Regions from separate parts of the Homo sapiens genome. Here region 1 is linked to region 2. Evidence: promoter capture Hi-C in 16 types of primary human blood cells and fetal thymus (Javierre and others, 2016). All regions are on one chromosome and are shown on one strand. Each heading gives the region's core, a stretch centred on a gene start or on the middle of the fragment in contact. The rest is flanking DNA. Distances are from core to core; before and after follow the strand shown. Region 1 overlaps LINC02641 (long intergenic non-protein coding RNA 2641). Region 2 holds the start of HMX3 (H6 family homeobox 3).

Region 1 (6,719 bases), core at 4,210-6,709, 270 kb after region 2:
GCCCAAGATGTGCTTGTTCTGTGACCTTGGATAGGTTGTTCAATGTGGCCTCAGGTATCTCACCTATAAAATGAGAATAATAATAATACCCACCTTCAAGGTCATCATGAGGATTAAATGAGCTATATACATAAAACTCACAGCAGACCTGTGGCTATAGTAAGTGTTCATTAAATGTTAGTTTCTGTTATGAATGCTAATGGACCTCCCAACAACCCTGCATGGTAGGTGATTATCCAAATCTTCCATGTGAGGAAACTGAGGCTTACAGAGCTTTGGCAACTTGACCATGGGCTCAGAGCTGGGAAGTGGTGGCATGGGGATGAAAAGTTAGGCAGGCTCACTTTCCAGCTCCCATTCTTAATCATGACTGTGAAGAGTTCCATATGTTTCCCTAATCTCCATCATCTCCTTCTGTGAGAAGACTAAGCAGCTTACAAAACACCACTAAGCAGTGTCCCTCTTGTTGAACATTTTTGCACACATCTCCCAGTACACACATACAAGGACATGTACCCAAGAGAGGGATGATTGTGTCATAGGCAGGATGACAATATAACTTATCGTTCAATCCAGGACAGTTTTGAGAGTAAAAGGGGCTGCTAATATTTATGCTGGTGCAACAGGTGTTTTCTCAGGACAATCCTAGTTTACCATGTACATGCATTTTAAACAAAATCTTTAATGAAGAACATAAGACTTTAGAAAACTTTTTAACCCCCAGGCAATCCCCCCCTATACTTCATACTTATGACTTACAGGCTGTGGTTTTTTAGTATTTTAGTTCAGTATTTAGTTAAAATAGAAATTTGTGTAGATTTACCTGTATGTTTTCCATTTGATTTGCTCAGTTTCTTCTTGTAGCATAGACACATTTTCTGTTATCTTTTATTTTTTTCCCTGATGAATGTCTTTTAAATGTTATTTTACTGACTATAGATCTGTTGGTAGCAAGCATTTTATTTTTTGTTTATAAAATTTTATGAAATTACTTTTTATTTCAAACTATGTTGGTTACAAATTTTAGGTTAACATTTATGTTCTCTCAGTACTGAAATGGTATGGTTCCACTGTTTCCTGGTTGTTATTATCATTGTTGAGAAGTCTGCTGTCACTTTAATGTCTTTGTGGGTGGTCTGTCTTTTCTTTCTGGCTGTTTTTAATATTGCGTCTTTGTCTTTGGTGTCCTGCAATTTCAATGCACTATATCTACACATATCTTTTATTCTTTTTGGATGTATACTTCCTGGATTTATGGATTCATGTCTTTTATCAACTTGGGAAACTTTCTTGGCCACTTTTCTCTGAAAAAATTCCATTTTCTGTATTCTTTCCTTCTGTGATTTTTATCAGATGTGATTTAGAACTTTTAATTTTAGCCTTCATAGATCTTAGCTTCTCTTTCATATTTTCCATCTCCTTGACTGAAGTGCTACACTAATAGGTAATTTCTTCAGCTCTGTATTCCAATACACTAATCTCTCTTCAGTTGTGCCTCATCCATTATTTAACTCATCCATTGCATTTCTGATTTCAACAATAGTTTCATTCCTAAAAGTTCTATTGGGTTATTTCTTAGATATCTTTGGTTATTTTGATGGTCTTTTCTTGCTTGCTTATTTTTGTAATGCCAATTTTAATTTCCTTTAACAGTTAATGCAACATTATTTCATATTATCTAACTAGTAATTATAATTTCTGAAATATTGGCAGTCCAGGTTTACTGTTGGATGTGTTTGCTAACTTTAAGTCATAGTGACTTATTTTCTTGTGTATTTGGTGGTCTTTTATTATGGGGCCATGTTTGTATGTGCTTAATTGGTAGGAATCCTATAGATCTAAATGCTTTCCTCCGAAAAGTCTTTGTATTAGATTTCTTTCTGGGACCTAAAAACGTCTATGAATTTGGGGTCACTTTAGACTGTTGAGGGTCTGTAATTTAATATAGTAGTTTTAGGCTTAGCTCCTCCATCTTGCTGATGGCCTAGCGATTAGTGTCTCAGTTGCAGAGCTGATATTGACATTTGTACTCAGTGCAACCCCATCTTTCCATCTGCTTAATGCAGGTTTTCTTTAGCTCAGGTTTGTTTTTCTTTGGGGTGAGGACGAGGTCCTTGGACATTAAACTTATTTCTTACAAATCTACCAATAAAATAAGTGCAGCAGGACAGCCCTTTGGATAATATTAGCTTCCATATTGCTGGAAACAGAAGTCTAGATGCATACATTTTCCAGGGATGAAGTGTCCATATCTAGAAAATAGGCAAGACAATATTGACTCCTTCATGAGACTGTTTAGGAGATAAAGTAACTGATCTAAAGGAGTGGTGGCTTTCCAGAGCAGTGGCTACTGATGTTCCCTATTCTCCTGCCCCACTCCTATTTCCTGAAAGTGGACTGACCTACTCTTGACTCACATTTCTGATGAGCCATAGGCCAGGAAGCCTTGAATTCTGGGGTTTTCAGACCATTGCTTCAGCTACTCACTCCCTCCTTCTCAATACCCTTCATCTCTCTACAACTGATTCTAACCTGCTTCCACTTCATCTTGTCCCACCGTCCTAAACCCTTGGCTTTGTGACTCTGGAATCTCTCTGCTTGCTTTTGCTTCCTTTTCCCCTCTGCTCTCAATGTGTTAGGCACCCTTTCTGTTGCTGGCATTTGGACCTCAACTCTCCTAGCTCTGACTTTACTAATCTCTCCAGTCTTAGCCCCTCTTGTCATCTTGGCAAGAAACTCTTTGCACTAGCCTCACCCTATGCAGTCCAGCCAGTTCCAGGGGCTGATAGAGGGAAGGGGGATGTTGGATATGTTAGGGGCATTTTTATGGTTAACTTCTGTGGTGGAAAGATCATTTGGAAATCACACTGAAGATTATTGTTGGGTGAGTAAGTTGGAGGGGCATTTTACTTTGTATTTCAATACCTGTTTTTATTTATAAGTCACACATACATCTCTTCCCCACTCCACTCCACAACCTCATTTTCCCTCCAAGCATTTAGGAACAAAGAGGTTTCTAAATCCAGTGTAAGTGAAAGAGCCTGAAAACCTGTCAGCAGATTAAACAAAGAGTAAATCTTCATGATTTGGGTTAGGCAATGACTTAGATACGACATTCAAAGCACAAGCAACAAAAGGAAGAAATGGACAAATTGGACTCATAAAAATTAAAAATTTTTGTACCACAGGTGGTGTCATTAAGGAAGTGGAAAGACAATCCATAGAATGGGAAAAATATTTGCAAATAATATATCTGATAAGGGACTCGTATACAGAAAATATAAAAACTGTACAACTCAATAATAAAAAGACAAATAGTGCAATCTTACAAAAGGGCAAACGATCTGAATAGACATTTCTCCAAAGAAGATAAACAAATGGCCAGTAAGCACATGGAAAGATGCTCAGTTTTGTTAGTCATTAAAGAAATACAAAGCAAAATCACAGTAACAAACCACTACGTACCCACGAGATGTCTAGAGCCAAAAAGATAGACAATAGTAAGTGTTGATGAAGATGTGGAGAAATTGCAACCTTCATGCATTGCTGTAGCTACTTTGGAAAACAGTGTGGCAATTCCAAGTTAAATGGAGTTACCATGTGACCCAGGAATTCCACTCCTAGGTATATATCTGAGAAATGAAAACATATGTCCTCATGAAAACTCGTCCATGAATGTTCATAGCAGCATTATTTATAGTAGCTGCAAAGCAGAACAACCCAAGCACCCATCATCTGATGAATGGATAAACAAAGTGTGGTTTATTCATACAATGGAATATTATTTGGCAATAAAAAATAACAGAAAACTGATATAAGCAACAATACTACGACATTAATGAATGTTGAAAAAGTTATTCGGAGTGAAAGAAGACATTACAAAATACCACATACTGAATGACTTCACTCATACAAAGTGTCCAGGATAGACAAACCTGTGGAGATGGAAAGCAGATTCCTTGTAGGGCTGGGGGTGACAGGTGGGAGTGACTGGGAGTAACTGCTCATGGGTACTGGGCTTCTTTGTCAGGTTATGGAAATGTTCTAAACTCAGGCTATGGTTATGGTTATACAATACTATACTAAGAACATTGTTTTGAGTGAATCATATGGCTGATAAATTTTATCTCAATAAAGCTGGTTTTATTTTTATTTTCTTAAAGTCAGCAATTCTTTTCCTTGTCTAGGAATTTAATTCATCCCTGTTAACAAAATGTTCCATTAAAATTAGGGTTGCCAGATTTAGGAAGTAACAGTACAGGAAGCTCAGTTAAACTCAAATTTCTGACAAACAAGCGATAATTTCTTAGTTATAAGTTTGTCCCAAATATTGCATGAGACAAACTTATAATGAAAAGTCATCTGTTGTTTATTTGAAACTCAACTGAGCATCCTGTTTTATCTTGTTCTCCCAATTAAAATGTAATGCAAACCACAGCGTTTTAATATAGAGCTACATTATTTTCAAAATCATCATCTGTCTCTTCATACACATCCCCTAACTCCAGTACCAGAGGTAACATTGTTTCCATTTTACAGAGCATGAACCAGACCTAGACGGATAAAATGAATGTGACCCTTCATTTTATCCATGTGACCCAGTAGCAATGCCGTGATCTGAACCCAGGTCTGCCTGACTCCCAAAGCCAGGCCCCCTCTACTCGAAGTGCAGGGCCCATGGCCACCTTGCTGTGGCCAGTGGTGAGAAACCTGATTCTCTCCTCGTTTGTGTAAGGCGTGGGGGGAGTCTGAAACCTTCAGTCCCCATAACATTCCTAGCAGGGGCTCTGAAGCCTGGTTGCTGAGGGTGCTGGCAAAACAGAACAGCAAGTTCCCATTAGAATGTTCTTTTCTGGGAGGAGATAACAGGATAATAGGTATGTGACTTGCTACCTGTAAAATGATGAGTGACAAAGAGTCACTCCAGATTAGGGTAATTCAGAACGAGTTAAGCCAATACCTGTGCTCCTTAGAGATCAATTTTTATTTTGAGGTGAGGAGAGGAAAGATGAAAGAGATTTAAAATAAAATTCAGTGTTCCCTTCCCAACCTCAAAAAAGCTTGGGAGCTTTGGAGGGAGGTCTCTGAGTGCCTGGTGAGAGATGGTAAATGTGGATGAGGGCAGAATGTCCCTGAAATTAAAGACATGTGGCTTAGGGACAAATGAGACCTCTGCACTGGATTCCTCAATATTTCCTGCATGAAATCTCTGCACTGAATTCCAGTCTCAGGAAGAAACTGGATGTATACATGATGTTTAAAGATGTTTAACATCTTGAACAGGCTACAGTCAAAAACTAAACAGGCCATTGGGGGATAAATGATATTTTTCTTCCTCTCTTCAGTCATCATAACAAATTCCCTGATGGTTGGGTCAATGGAGCACCCTCTTCTAGGGCAACCTACTGTAATGCAATAGCGAGTTTCACTCTGGTATATTCTATGATATGGATAGTAGTTCCTAAATAGTGGTCATTGAACGAGTGTCAGACTGCATCTGAGTCATCGAGGAAGATTCTAAAATATGAATTCCTGGACTCCATTCCTATAGATTCTGATTCAGCAGGCCTGGCTTGGAGTCTAGGAATCTATGATTCTCATTACTAGCAAGCCCCCAAATGGTTTTGATGGACAGCCAGACTGGAAATCCCTGGTAGAGGTGAAGTGTCAAGATGCTCTATGTCAAAATTAAAAGGTTTGCATTAGACAAGGTCAGGATGTCAGCAGTCTTTGTTTTCTGCAAAAAGGCCTTGCTTTTTGCCATGGATCTATTCATGACATGAAAACAATTTTTTTTAAGAAGCCAAATTGTGCTATAAATATATTAGGACAAACGACTTTTTAAGGAACTCCTGCAGGGAAGCTTTTTCTAAGGCATAGAGCCCATTTGTCATCAAAATCTTTTCCCCCAAAGCAAATTTGCTGGAATGGAAAGCACCGCACCCCAGGAGTGCAGACAGCAGGGTCTGAGCTGCAGCCCTTCCTGATTTTCAGCTGGATGAACTTGGACTCATGGCTTAATTTTCTGGGACTCAGGCTTCCGAGGAGGTGGAGGGATGGTGGGGATGGAGGGAGCCAGCTAGGGGAGTAAAGTGGGAGGTGAGTGGAGGATCTCAAAGCCTCTTTCCAGCTTCTACACTTTCTTAGGGAATCCTATTATATTTTTCTTATTCTATTTCAGTTTTTGCAAAGCAGTTCATGATTGCTTCTACTGCCAAATAGCCAACCCCCCTCCCCAACTCCAGCCCAATTTGTAATTAGGCGTCACGGGCAGACAGGCTGTTCTTGACTCCTGGCCAGAAGCTCTAGTCTTTTGTATAAATACATATGCCAGATCTTAAGTGAGTATGTGTTATTTAAAACCCCAGAATTTCAGGGTGACTTTAGTCTACCAAACAGATTCTCTTGTCCATAGCCGTGGACTTTTTTTCCTTGATCAGACATATGCTTCTCCCTTTAGTCTCCCAGTGGCTCAGGAGTCCACTGCACCTGTGGGATCTTGAAGGCGGTCAGAGGTGCTTGCTCAACTCTTTCTCACTTAAATAGCCCTTCCATGAAGCTGCCTGTGCAGACACCTGACCAGTGGCGTGGGGTGCCTTCTGCCGGGGATCTCTTCTTCACTTGAGGCCTGAACGTAAGGCCAAATTCCTCTCCAGTGTCACCAGGAGAACAAATTTATTTTCTCTGCATATGACCTTGTCGCTTTTCTTTCTGCCCTC
Region 2 (6,369 bases), core at 3,055-5,554:
TAACTGTTACCCTCACTGTCATGAAAGGGTAAGACATTCAGTCACTCTAAGGACATTGTATGTGATGCAGGAAACATATGTGATCAGGCACAGCTTGGCTGTGACCTGTCTCCCAGGGCTGTGTATTTTCTAAGGGTCAGTATTTAGTCAGAGGGAGACATCATTGGCAGCATTCCTGGTGGCATCGAGAAAGATGGGAGAGAACTTTCCAGGAAAGTCCCAGTAAAGAGCTTGTGTAGCATGTGTAGGTAGCACAGTTTCCCCAGGATCACAATTCCAGGCTTTTGTCCATTCTGCCTTCAAAGCAAGGACCTGCAGGTCAGAAGAGGTGGGTGGTAAAATGAGGCCATCAGGACCAGGGCAAACCCTCTATGTTAATTGTGGGGGCCTCCAGCCTGGGAGTTTTGCAGCTTTGGCTAGAAGCCTAAGCAGTCCCCACCCCGTCCATGGATAAGGAGGTGGGCTGTGCCAGGAAGCTGCTCCAAGGAGAAGGACCGTAGTATGGCTATGGAGGGAAGGAAGCAGCCTTCTCTTAGATGAAGTACTGAAAAATATGGAAAGCTCCCCTCCTTTGGGAAGCGCCTTGCTTACTGACTTGTGTGTGTGCACAAACGTGTATGTGCTTTGTGTGTGTGGTGGGCCTGGGGCAGGTGAGAATGCCATGCCAAGCACTCCTGTATCAGGCCTCATGCTTTTGTGTAAAAGTTGGGTGTTAATCACTGGCATTCTCCAGTCCCCTTCTGCCCTCTTGGCTCCTTGTCCCAAGGGTGGGTGGTGTAGAGACCCGCTCTCACAGCCCATCTGCCTGAGATTAGCCTGGGAAAGGTCCCCCAAAGGTCCTATTCCTTGGGCTCCTTTAGGTTTTGTAAAATGCAGCATCAAAAGATCTCAGATTTCATTAAACTCTTTAAAAACAGCTTTTGGGTATGATCAGGCTATCTGAAGGTCCCTAATCAAGTGGGCCAATTCTCTGTAAGGGAACTGTGAATCCATTCATTCATTCATCCATTCATTCATTCGTCTCACTCAGGCATTCAGGCATTAATACAAGCGTTTCCTGAGCACAAGCATTTCCTGAGCACAAGCGTTTCGTCCGCTGATCGGCCGGCGGCGCTGAGTCCTGGGAAGACGAATGAGGCAGGCCCGTTCCCTCCTTCCCTCCCCGAGTCCTTCCTGGAGAACACCTAGCCTGAGGTTAGGACCGGCACCTAAAGGATAGAACGAGACGGGGACCACAGAATGGGCCCTAAAACAGGCAGGAAAAGCGGGAAGGAGGATGACAGGCAGGCGAGACCACTTCCTGTCGTGGCCAGGTAGAGATCAGCAGAGATCTGAAGGCGATTTCACCCACTTCTTCTCCCGGGATCCAGAGAAAAAATGCTTTTGTTTTCTAACTGCGGCGGCGAAGGGCGAGACCTCAATGGCTTTTAAACGTCCTGCGCCGGGACAGCGGTTTCTCCAGCGGAACCTGCAGGCTTGGTTCAGAGGCTGTCCCATAGAGGGCGCTGTCTGCCTGACTTTGAATGGAGTCGTGAGCGCAAGAACGCTGGCAACACCTCTCGCCAGACGGCGAGTAAAGGGCTGAGTCCGCGCCCAGACCCGACTCCCACCAGCTTTCTCGAAGGGGAAGGGAAAGATCTACTCAATACATCCCGCTTTTCAAGCCCAGCAATCCCTAAAACTGAGAGGATGGGCTGAGAGTGCTGACACTGGAGAAGCTCCTCTCCCGGGCCAAACACAAGCACATAACAGCGCCCCTGCGCGCCCCTGGGAGGGGAGTCAACCGGAGAACTTGGGGCGACAACCGGAAAGCCGGGATCCGGTAGCCGCACAGCAGGGATGCGGGCGGCTGTCCCGGACTCTTCTCCCGCCACACTGGGCCTGTCCCCTCCCCATCTGAGTCTAGCGCTGGAGTTGTGATCAGCCACGAGTCCCCCTCCCCAGACTGAACCCTCAGCATTCCCAGTTTAAAGTCGACTTTCGTGCGTCAGAACTCTAGCCAAGTTTGCATGCGTCTGCGCTGAATGGCGAAGCTCCCAAAACACACAGGCATACACGCCGGGGTCTCTCCACGCATACTCGGCCGCGTGGCAGGCTGTGTGCAGGCGGTGCCCACCCAACCCTCATAGACCTACGTGCATCGAGCTATTTCTGCGGTTGGGGGAAAATGACCTCTGGGTATCCAGCAGCGATTGGGCGACCTAGGCCCAGTTTCCTCCTCTCTGGGCGCGGGTTTCCACTTACAAAATCCAAGTATGAGACCCACCCTGCTGGGGTCTCAGGGCAGTGATCCGTTCCAACCCAGATTTTGGATGGCGTAGCGTTTTGCATTCCAGTAAAGCCCTGTGTAAACTCAAGGGAGTAATAACAGTAATTGTTTATGGAAGCGCCATTTACGTTTCCAGATTTCCAAAGCAAAAATGGGGTTCGCTGCTGTAGATGAATGCAGAAAGAAACATTACATATGCCCGTCGAGATTTGGTGGGGGAGGGTCTGACGCCCCAGGACCGAAAAACAAAATCTACCTCTCAAGTGGGGACCCCACACGATCACGTCTGCCAATGCAGGGCGGCCTTGAATTAGGCGAGGCTCAATCTAACGAAAAAGAAAGCGGTGGGGAGGTGAAGGGATCCCAAAAAGCCCTCGTGTGCGGGAGCTTCACCAGGGTGGAAGAGGGTGAGGCCAGTTTGTCACCTTTCTCTGATAAGAAAGCTGTCTCTCGGGAGGGGACCTCACAAACAATTCTGATTTACTTGATGCTTAAATCATGAGTCTTAAATGTCTGCCTCATGGGCTTCTCGTGCGAACCGGGGAGCTGTTTTTAAAGCCAGTGGAGTGGAATGTCCTTTCACTAAGCCGTTCTGCAAAGGTCCAGTGTGGTTCTCTAAGGACTTCGCTGCCGTCGAGACGCGCAGCGGATGCCGCTGCTTGCCGCGGCGGAGGAAGCTACGCCGCTGCGCCTTCGGTTCACCTTGCCCCCATTAAAGCGTTAGTTAGACAGCTCCAAACGCCAGCTGGCCGGAGAGACTTCCTGGGAGAAAGTGCTGTCGTCGGGGTCACAGACTCGGAGTTGATCCGCGAGCCTTGGGCACCGGCGGCCAGAGCAGAGGGGTGCCCTTCCGAGAGCAGCCGTCGGTGCCGAGAAGCTGTTGCCCCAGCAGCCCCACCGAGTGACGCGCGGGTTTTGGCCGGGTCAGCGCGCATACGCACACAGGCACACCCACTCCTGGTCCCGGGGGAAGGCTCACTCTTCGGTTTTCCAGGGCTAAAGGCCAAGGCCACGCGGATTTCTGAGTCCGAAGACGCAGTGCGAGGACTTACACCTGGATTCCCTTACTATCGGCTGGATGGTGGGTGGGGAACCCAAATCCCTCTCTTCTTGGCCTCGCCCTTCCTAGCAGGCTTTAGGAAAAATACCGAGGTCGCCGGACCCCAAAGGGTAGGAAAATGATGAGTTCTCCGAGGGCCGAGGTCACGTCCTGCCTCTTGGGCCGGCGCTGCGTGGCTCTCCAGCTGCGTGGGGGCGGCGGGCCCCTGTCCAGCCCCAGGGGGCGGGGGAGCGGCAGCTGCGAGCGCAGATAACCCCGAGGTGACCCGGGAGGGCCTGGTCCGCCCCTCCCCCCTCCCGCAGGCCTGGCGGCGGGAAGCGGGTCCCTGCGCCGCAGGGGGGAGAGGCAGGCGCGGTCTCCGGGCTCGCGGCCGTTAGTGCGCTTCGGCCAAGGGCGCCGCCTGCTCCGCGTCCCTCGCTCGCCTCCTGCGCTCGCAGGAGCGCTCCGAGTGCCTCTTTAGCGGGAGCCAATATCCTTTTGTGCTAATAGGCTTGTCCTCATTTGCTGCCTAATTGGACTATATAAAGCCAATAACGGGCGGGCTCTTATAGCCCGAAGCCAAAGCGCCAAAATCCGAGGGAAGGCGAGGAGGGGGCGGTGGCGGAGGCGGCTGCGGGGCCGGGGCTCGGCTGAGCCTTCGCCTGCCTAATCCCATTTGCCATTGTACGCGCCCAATCGCCGTATACTCCCCGCATTTAACTTGGATGACATTTTGATTTCATCATTAGCATCCGGCGCCGGATTGACGCAGCCTCGAGCCGGGGACTGCTCTTGCTGCCTCCTCCGCGGGAGCCGCAGCCGCAGCCGAGCCGCCTCGATCCCTCGGTGCCGCGGCAGGGCCGCTCCCCGCCCCTCCGCACCCCTCCCTCATGCGAGCCCGCCCGTCTGGGTCCTCACTCCGCCCTCCCGCCGTTGGATTTGCGCCCGGGGCGGCCCCCGACTTTGCGCCCCGTAGTTGAGTTCCGTTTATGGTCTGATTTCCGGCCTCTCGCCTGCTCGCCCCGCCGCCCGCCTGTCCCGCTCCCTCCCTCCCGGGGACCCGGAGGAGAGGGGACCATGCCGGAACCCGGGCCGGACGCTGCCGGCACCGCCAGCGCACAGCCCCAACCGCCGCCGCCCCCCCCACCCGCTCCCAAGGAGTCCCCGTTCTCCATCAAGAACCTGCTCAACGGAGACCACCACCGGCCGCCCCCTAAGCCTCAGCCGCCCCCACGGACGCTCTTCGCGCCAGCCTCGGCTGCCGCCGCCGCCGCCGCTGCCGCTGCCGCGGCGGCCAAGGGGGCCCTGGAGGGCGCCGCGGGCTTCGCGCTCTCGCAGGTGGGCGACCTGGCTTTCCCTCGCTTTGAGATCCCGGCGCAGAGGTTTGCCCTGCCCGCGCACTACCTGGAGCGCTCCCCAGCCTGGTGGTACCCCTACACCCTGACCCCCGCCGGCGGCCACCTCCCGCGACCTGAAGGTACCGACCTCTCTTTGAACTTTCGTTGTCCCCCTGCGCGCCCGCCCCGTCCCCGCCCCGCGCTGCTTCCCTCCGCAGTTCTGGGACCCCAGCACCCGCAAACCCTCTGCTCGGTCAGTTTTTTTCGGCCCCTAGCCTGCCCTCGCGCTGGGTTGCGCTGCCCGTTAATCCAATCCCACTTGGTGAGAAAAGAAGTGGAATTGGAGCCCCGGGCACGGTGCTTCCCGGGAAAAGTGGCCTCGGGCGTGAATAGGGAGGCTTCGGACGGCCGGGGCTTGGGACACGGCCTGGAAGGAGGGGGTGATTCCAATGCGCCTAAGCCGAAAGGGAACCGTTCTGCCGGCCCCTGGCGAGGAAGCTGAGGGAATGGAAGGAGGTGGCCGCGCTACCACCATCTGCTTGCCTGTCCTCGGGAGGAGGGGGATCCCAGGACTCGGCGTCCCTTCTCTGGCCCAGCCGAGAAGGAGGCAGCCCGCGGGAATGGTGAGGCCTCATGGCCTGGGACCTGGAGGCCGGCGCGGGTTGAGCCTGCCGTCCCCAGGCGCCGGGCCTCGCTCAAGGCTGTGTCGGTGTGCATGTGTGTGCGTCCGTCTGTCTGTCTCCCCAGCCTCGGAGAAGGCCTTGCTGAGAGACTCCTCCCCCGCCTCCGGCACAGACCGCGACTCTCCGGAGCCACTGCTCAAGGCCGACCCCGATCACAAGGAGCTGGACTCCAAGAGCCCGGACGAGATCATTCTGGAGGAGAGCGACTCCGAGGAAAGCAAAAAGGAAGGCGAAGCGGCGCCAGGCGCGGCCGGGGCGAGCGTAGGGGCGGCGGCGGCCACTCCGGGCGCAGAAGACTGGAAGAAGGGCGCTGAAAGTCCAGAGAAGAAGCCGGCGTGCCGCAAGAAGAAGACGCGCACAGTCTTCTCGCGCAGCCAGGTCTTCCAGCTCGAGTCCACCTTCGACATGAAGCGCTATCTGAGCAGCTCGGAGCGAGCCGGCCTGGCCGCGTCCCTGCACCTCACCGAGACGCAGGTCAAGATCTGGTTCCAGAACCGCCGCAACAAGTGGAAGCGGCAGCTGGCGGCGGAGCTGGAGGCGGCCAACCTGAGCCATGCCGCGGCGCAGCGCATCGTGCGGGTGCCCATCCTCTACCACGAGAACTCGGCGGCCGAGGGCGCGGCGGCTGCAGCCGCGGGGGCCCCGGTGCCAGTCAGCCAGCCGCTGCTCACCTTCCCGCACCCCGTCTACTACTCGCACCCGGTGGTCTCTTCCGTGCCGCTGCTACGGCCGGTCTGAGGCCCCAGAGGGGTGGGGGAGGGAGCGCCCGGCCTCCTTGTCCGGACCCCGGAGGAGACTGGGCCGGGCCGAGGGCGCCGAGAAGTCCAGCGGCCTTCAGGAACTGGGGCTTGGGCGCGCAGCCTCTGCTTCCCCTCCCCCAGTCGGTAGCATTTTGTAAGTATTTGCAATGCATTTTCGTGCAATTCATCCCTAATGGATTGGAGGCGCTTCCCCTCTTACTTTTGGTTTTTGGCTTATATTAAGAGAAAGCAGGAACAAGACAAAATTTTCGGGTCAGAGATTTCGGCCGATAGTTTTTGT

The links. The method cuts DNA at HindIII sites, captures the fragments that hold promoters and counts their contacts. A CHiCAGO score of 5 or more calls a contact.
Region 1: a fragment that was not itself captured here is called in contact with the fragment with the promoter of HMX3 in region 2 in 4 of 17 cell types (M2 macrophages, M0 macrophages, naive CD4 T cells and 1 more); the score reaches 8.8 in M2 macrophages.

Annotation. Positions count from the first base shown.
Region 1 is chr10:123,403,353-123,410,071 of GRCh38, forward strand. All of the region lies in intron 6 of LINC02641 (long intergenic non-protein coding RNA 2641), which reads left to right. Among named protein-coding and RNA genes, the nearest start is that of LINC02641, 59 kb to the left of the region's middle. The HindIII fragment of the contact is 803 bases long and covers 5,059-5,861 here.
Region 2 is chr10:123,131,666-123,138,034 of GRCh38, forward strand. HMX3 (H6 family homeobox 3) reads left to right here and starts at 4,305. Exons shown (of 2, transcript NM_001105574.2): 1 at 4,305-4,785; 2 at 5,393-6,369. The coding sequence starts at 4,386. The coding sequence ends at 6,066. RefSeq lists enhancers at 1,172-1,281, 1,348-1,642, 3,520-4,470, 5,653-6,369 and silencers at 3,474-3,593, 3,624-3,753, 4,134-4,213, 4,264-4,673, 4,684-4,733 and 1 more. The HindIII fragment of the contact is 8,924 bases long and covers 1-6,369 here.